Linked DNA regions of Homo sapiens: region 2 is linked to region 1. Evidence: promoter capture Hi-C in 16 types of primary human blood cells and fetal thymus (Javierre and others, 2016). All regions are on one chromosome and are shown on one strand. The core of a region is centred on a gene start or on the middle of the fragment in contact, and the rest is flanking DNA. Distances in the headings are between cores, read along the strand shown. Region 1 holds the start of C18orf63 (chromosome 18 open reading frame 63). Region 2 has its middle 8.6 kb from the start of ZNF407-AS1.

Region 1 (3,584 bases), core at 82-2,581:
AAAGTAAGCTGGACTCTAGTACTTTCAACTTTTCAACATCAACATGCTTTTTCTTTTTAAGAAAGAATAATATACTGGCCCGGGAATGTGCAGTGTGACCAGCCTTCTGATCACAGTACTGAAATGAGTTTGTGGTGTCATCTGAGGAATGCTGGCAATGCCAGCAGGAATGTAATACAGTAGGAATGTAAATTCCAGGTCACCAAAAAATTCCTGGGTGCAAGTCCTCCCGTTTTGCCAATCTTCAAATACTCACGGATTGCAACACTGTATGTAAACAAGAGTGATCTGTTCAGGGATAAGCATGAATTTATTAGAATTATTACTATTGTTTAATTTTGTGAGTTCCTAGTTGGCAAAACTTGCAGATTCAAAAAGAATGTTGTTTTCTTTGGCTAGGCTGTAGAACTATATTGTGAAGCTCAAAACGTGGGCCAAGCCTTATTATGATCTACGGATGCGCTATTAACATCCTGTCCAGGGAGTCGCTCCACTACGTTTCTGTCCCAGGATTTCATCTTTATTCCCAATCCCCAGCAGGGCAAGGAACAAGTGCTAGGAGCAGGCAACAGGCACCTACGCAATTCTACACGTGAGGGAGGACTCAGAGAACCCCAAAGGACCAAAACTCTGGGAGCGCCCAGCTCCTGCAGTGCTGTGCGCTAAGCCTCGGGACCGCCGCTACGAGGGACCCTTCCTAAAAATCCTCCCGGGGCGCGGGGTTCAGGGCGGCCCCAGACCCGGCTTGCCGCTGCCCCCAGGCGAGCGCCCACCCCTCTTCCGGCCTGGCTTCTGTGAGAACAGTAATGGACGTGAGTGGAAACGAATCTAAGGTCTTTGTTCAGCTAAATCCATTTTAAAAGGTGATTCTATAAATTTCCGATATAATGAAATGCCCGAAAAATTGGGACTCATGGGTCTTTGCAGATGAATACATTTTTTTCCTGACCCAAACCAACGTCCTCAGGGTGCCGGCGCCGGCACCGGGATCCTGCCCTCATGGCGGCCCTGACCTGCTCCTCCGCAACCGTGGGGAAGAGAATCAGGAAAATGGTCTTACAAACTGGAAAAGCAACACTTCTAACGCCCACGGCCTCCTGCACTGCAGATGCGTCAGGCGTCTCCTCAGGGGGAGGAAAGGGCGGGTGGGCGGCAGGGCCTCCAGCAGTCTCCCTCGCTTCCGCTCTGCCTCCTTCAAGCAGCTGCCCCCCAAGGCCAGGCCTCTTGGTCTCTGTGGGGCGTCGATTGAGAGCCCGCGTGCCTCAGCTCCCTCCTCGCTGCCCTCAGGAGACGCTCCCGGCTCGCCCCGCGTGCCCTGCCTTCATCGGAGTGTCCCCTCGTGCCCTCCTCACAGCCCTCGGGAGCCAATCCCAGTATTTCCCGCGCTCTCCCAGCGTTCCCTGCGCTCTCCCAGCATGCCCTGCAAGCCTTGCGCTCCTGGCACGCAATGTAGGTCAACTTTTCCCGCCAAGGCAGGAACCGACCAAAGCTGGTCACGGATGACCCAGTGAAGCCCTGTGAGATTCTCTCAGCCTGAGCTGGTGTGGGTGGGGCCGGGACACAAGGTTCTGGCCGCCCTCGAAGGCGGGAAAGCTGGGTCAGCGCAACACGTCCAACGGGGAGCTCCGGCGCTGAAGCCCCGGCTAACTGCGTGCTGCACAGGGGCTACCCAGCCTCTTGCCTCGGCACGTTTCTCCTCAGATTCTCATGCCCGAATTTACAGCTTCTGCAGTTCCTTTAGTGGTGGGAATCTCCATGACTGGAACATCTTCATGCCTGGTGTGGAGGGGAAGCGTGGTGCAAGCTCGTGGGAGTAAATCCACGAAGCGCCTACTGTGTGCAGATGCGTTTCTAAGGTCTGCTGATAGAGCACTAAGCAAACAGCATTCCCGGTCCTTGTGGGATGCACATTTTACTTGGTAGTTGGGGGAAAACAGATACGCAAGATAAATGTGCAAAATCTTAGTGTGGCAGATGGTGATAGGTGCATTGGAGAAAAATTAAGTAGGGTAGGGAGGCGGGGAGTGCCGAGGAGAAGTCGTTAGGTTTAATAGCGTGGTCAGGAAGGCCTCGTGGAGAACGGGACGTTTGAGAAAGACATGAAGGCGGTGAGAGTGGGCAGCCTCGTGCATGTCTCGGGGGAGAATGTTTGTTACGAGAGAGGGAATCCTACAAAAGGCCAGGGCAGGAGGGACGCCAGCTGGCTGCAGTAGAGCAGGAAAGAAGTGGCTCCGTGAGGCAGGAGGAGTTACAGAGAGCCAGACAGGGTTAGGCCCGATAAGCCATGGAAGTATTAAAGGTGCATCCAGCCTGCTGTGCTGGAATGGACTGAAGGGGACAGGGAAAGGAAGAAAAGCAGTTAGGAGGCAATGGCAATAAGGAGAGAGGTGGCTTGGATCAGAGCAGTGGCAGTGGAGGGAATGGGATGGGATGGGATTGGATTCTGGATATATTTTGAAATTAGATTTAATAGGATTTGGATATGGATTGATGTGGGATCTGAGAGAGAGGGAGAGGAATCAAGCATCACTCCAAGGTTTTTATACTAAGAATTCAGAAGGATTGGGTTGCCATTAATTACAAAGGGGAAGACTAAGAGGAGCAAGTTTGGGGCTGAAGATCAGGAGGGTTCATGTCAGTTTTGGACTTGTTGACATTGAGAAATGAAGAGGAACAATAAGAGTTCTGGGGAAAGATCTGCATATAATAGATGCTATTTAAAACCTGAGGCCAGATTGGATCTCCATGAGAGTGCATTTAGGAAGAAAAGGAACCCTCACACTGGATCCTGGGACACCCCAATATGAGGTCAGGGAGATGACAAGGAACTTCATGGGTGGAATGTCAGGAAATTTTCATTAAGTCAGAGATTTGCTACTTTTCAATCCCACATCTTGCCAGCTCCCAGAAGTGGTATTGTGAAAGAATGAGATTTTATATTGTGTTTAATGTCTAATCAGTTAAAGTCATTTACCTATTTTATTTGCAAAATAATTTTTGGCAAAGAGGAACATTTTTACATATCTTCCTAGCAATAAGAATGTGTTCAATGTTTACAATTGTTTGGTTACTTATGACCCCAGATGTGAGATTATAGTAAGTGATTATCACAACGTTGTTGAGACAAATCAGCCTCCTAAGACAAAGACACTTTACATTAATTGAACAAAACACAATCTTCTGAAATAGTCTAACAAATGTAATGTCTCAAATTTAACACCTGCGGTCTGAAGGTTTTATGTCACAGTCCTTGCAATTATTAAAACAAACCTTTCGATATTACAGAAAATCTCTTTGTCCTACTTGGTATGTACACATGGGGAAAGAAACCCCTCTGTTTTATGAAGACAGGTAAAAAGTAAATATAGATTCAATTTAAATTTTGTGATAACTGTGGATATTCACTAGCCTTTCCTATCTATCTAAACAAAGGGAAGCCAAGTGTTCTTTATTCCAAAAAGCACATGTATGAACACTTTATGTTCTTAATATCTGTGCTATTGAACTTATGGCCTCTGGTTTCAACAATAATTTTAACCAAGGCAGAATTAAAGACATTTGAAGTTTGTTTGTTTGTTTGTTTG
Region 2 (3,158 bases), core at 445-2,944, 270 kb before region 1:
AGATGATTTAAAGCTTCAGATTTTCTGTTATAGTCAAAGGCATAATTTATCTGACATCTTTTTTCATTCTGCCTAAGGAATTACACTAGAATAATGTTTTTAAATAAAATTTGTCCACATAATGACATTTTTTTCAATTCTATCCAAACTAAAATAGCTCCAAAGCGTTTACTTATCATAACTGTTAAGAAATTATACTTGCCAGGCATGGTAGCTCAAGCCTGTAATTCCAGCACTTTGGGAGGCTGAGATGGGTGACCTCCACTTGAGGTCAGGAGTTCGAAACCAGCCTGGCCAACATGGTAAAACCCCATCTCTACTAAAAATACAAAAAAATTAGCTGGGTGTGGTGGCAGGCGCCTGTAATCCCAGCTACTTGGGAGGCTGAGCCAGGAGAATTGCTTGAACCTGGGAGGCGGAGGCTGAAGTGAACCGAGATCACGCCATTGCACTCCAGCCTGGGCAACAAGAGTGAAATTCCATCTCAAAAAAAAAAAAAGAAAGAAAGAAAGAAAAAGAAAAGAAATTATTACACCTGCCATCACTTCTCTTCTACATCATGCTAGGAATTAAAAAGAATGCATCATTTTGTTGCTTCAGAAAATCTCCTGCATTCTTGTCTTTGTATTTTATCAATTGATTAGGGCTTTGGGGAGCTGAGCAAAGTATAGAACATATCCAACCCAACCTCTGCCTTACAAGAACTTACTTCCTAAAGAAGAAAGCTTTCTCAACATGGTAAAGAGGAAGATAAGTGCTCTGCAATACAGAATGTAGATGTTACATAGTTGGTCAGTGGAAGAGCAGAAGGAATATGTGCTAATGTTAGGACTTGGTTTAAGTTTTTCTTCGTTATGAAAGGCAGTAGTATTACAGATCGTTAACATAGTTATGCTAGGTCTAACCATCGTACATTAAGATAGAAACAAGTGTTTTGTATAATCAAGATCTCAAATCATGATTTAATTTTTTAGCCATTACATGTACAATTAATATTCAAACTTGATCTGAAAAATAACATTAAAAATAACAGATAACACTGAATTCATTTAAAAGTAGACATTTAAAATAGTATAGTACACTTTTTTTTTTTTTAAGAGACAGGATCTCCCCATGTTGCCCAGGCTGGTCTCAAAACTCCTGGGATCCTCCTGCCTCTGCCTCCCGAAGTGCTAGGATTACAGGCAGGATCCACCACGCCTGGCCCTTAAAATAGTATAGTATACTATCTACTAAACTAGATTGTGTTTAAAAGTCACTTGGCCCTATCATGAAACAGTTTGGGGATTTGTTTTTAAGTGAAAACAACTATCCGTAGAAGTGAGAAGTCAGATAAAATAGCATTTGTTTTCTTTTGTGAGCTTTCTCCTTCCTCTGCTTCTTCTAAGAACTTTGTTGAGCATGTCTAAATGGTCAGATGCTGGGCTTCGTGCTCTCCTCAGCTTAGCTTCTCATCACCTGCAGGAATGGCAGAGCAGTGTCATCTCACTCTGTCTTCTGATTGCTCAAGAGGAATCGTGTGTGTGTGTGTGAAAGTGAAATCTTCCAGTTTTGCAATGTCAGCTTCCCATTCAAAAGTGCTTAGGACACCGTGAAAGCCACATCAGCGGGGGTGAGGGAGCCAGTGCAGGGCTCCCGGGCTTCCAGTTTGTGGCCTCTGAATGAAGGTGTGGCCCCTGGTAAGATACAAGCACTGCTGGGAAGCCTAACACATCGAACAGTTATTAGCCATTGACACCTCTGCATGGCTTGTTTTCTGTGCTTCTCCCCAGTACTAGCTGCTCCCAAGAAGGTTTCAAACTAGGAACAAGGTGAAGTGGAGAGTATAAAGATGAGAGAAGTCCAGGAAGGGTATAGCACACCTGGTAGGGAAGACCCCCAAAATCGCTGCTGCAAAGTCAAGAGGAAGATTTTAGCAATCATACTGATTATCTAATGTGTGTAGCAACACCCCACTGGATGCCTGAAGTACAGAGATTAGTAGGATATGGTCGCTAATATTATACAGCGTGAAGTTTAATAGGAGGGAGAGAGATGCACAGAAATCATGAGTGTGCATTGCAGCATGAGAATGGATGATACAAATGTTGAAATCATTCATTTCAGCACTTAAATGTTTCCTAATGACATACAGTATGCCTGGAACCTTCAAGACATCAGGATAGACAAAACAGACAATCTCTGCCTGTAAAGATGTTACAGTCTAGCAGGAGAGCTGGCAGTTTTCAAATTGTAGAAATACAATCATGCATCACTTAACAGGGATACTGAGAAATGCGTGTCTGGACATCTTCAGCCACCCTAGAGTGTACCCACACAAGCCTAGATGGCATAGCCTACTACACGCCTAGGCAGCATGGTGTGGCCTATTGTTCCTAGGCTATAAACCTGTGCAGTGTGTTACTGTACTGAATACTGTAGGCAGTTGCAACACAGTAGTAAGTATCTATGTAGGTAAACATAGAAAAAGGTACAGTAATAATATGGTATTGTAATCTTATGGGACCACTGTCATATATGTTTGTTGTTGGCCAAATTGTCAGTATGTGGTACTTGACTAAGTATTTAATGGCAATGATAATAAATGCGACAAAGGAACTATGGAGACTATGGTAGCATAATAGGGACACCTCACTTACTCATGAGGAATAAGAAAAAGCTTCCCTGAAAAATTACGACTAAGCTGAGATTTGAAGAATAATGTGGAGGGTGGGTGGGAGGGGTATTAGTGACACCAAGGGGGTTGTAAGGGTGTTGCTGGAGGAGGGAGAGACTCTGAGAAGGCTCTGAGGCAGGGAAGCTCTTGGATGTTTGCGAAACTGGGAGGATTTGAAGGATGGGGTTGTCAGGGTGTATCTAGTGAGGGCAGAGCAAGCCAGAAGAGTAAGCAGAGAGCAGGTTGAGCAGGACTTGTAGACCTTCTTGGGATGTCTGACTTCATCCTCAGACCATGTCGCCAGTTGAGAGCTTTAAGCAGGGTGAGAGGGACAAGCCAGTTGCCGCATGGCATGTACAGTGAGAGGGGCTGTCGTGTAAGCAGTGGCTGGTTAGGGGCCTCTGCAATAACCCAGCAAAACTGAAGAGTGTTGGCTTATGAGCTATGCGAGGTGACAGTGGAACTAGAAGGAAGTGGTGGCTTTTGAGAAACGGGCTGGACT

The links. Contacts are between HindIII fragments. The CHiCAGO score rates a contact against its expected background, and 5 or more counts as called.
Region 2: a contact is called between a fragment that was not itself captured here and the fragment with the promoter of C18orf63 in region 1, in 1 of 17 cell types (total CD8 T cells). The highest score is 5.1, in total CD8 T cells.

The regions. Positions count from the first base shown.
Region 1 is chr18:74,313,586-74,317,169 of GRCh38, reverse strand. C18orf63 (chromosome 18 open reading frame 63) reads right to left here and starts at 1,331. Exons shown (of 14, transcript NM_001174123.2): 1 at 1,061-1,331. RefSeq lists an enhancer at 954-1,123. The HindIII fragment of the contact is 4,843 bases long and covers 1-3,584 here.
Region 2 is chr18:74,587,619-74,590,776 of GRCh38, reverse strand. No RefSeq gene overlaps it. Among named protein-coding and RNA genes, the nearest start is that of ZNF407-AS1, 8.6 kb to the left of the region's middle. The HindIII fragment of the contact is 1,934 bases long and covers 728-2,661 here.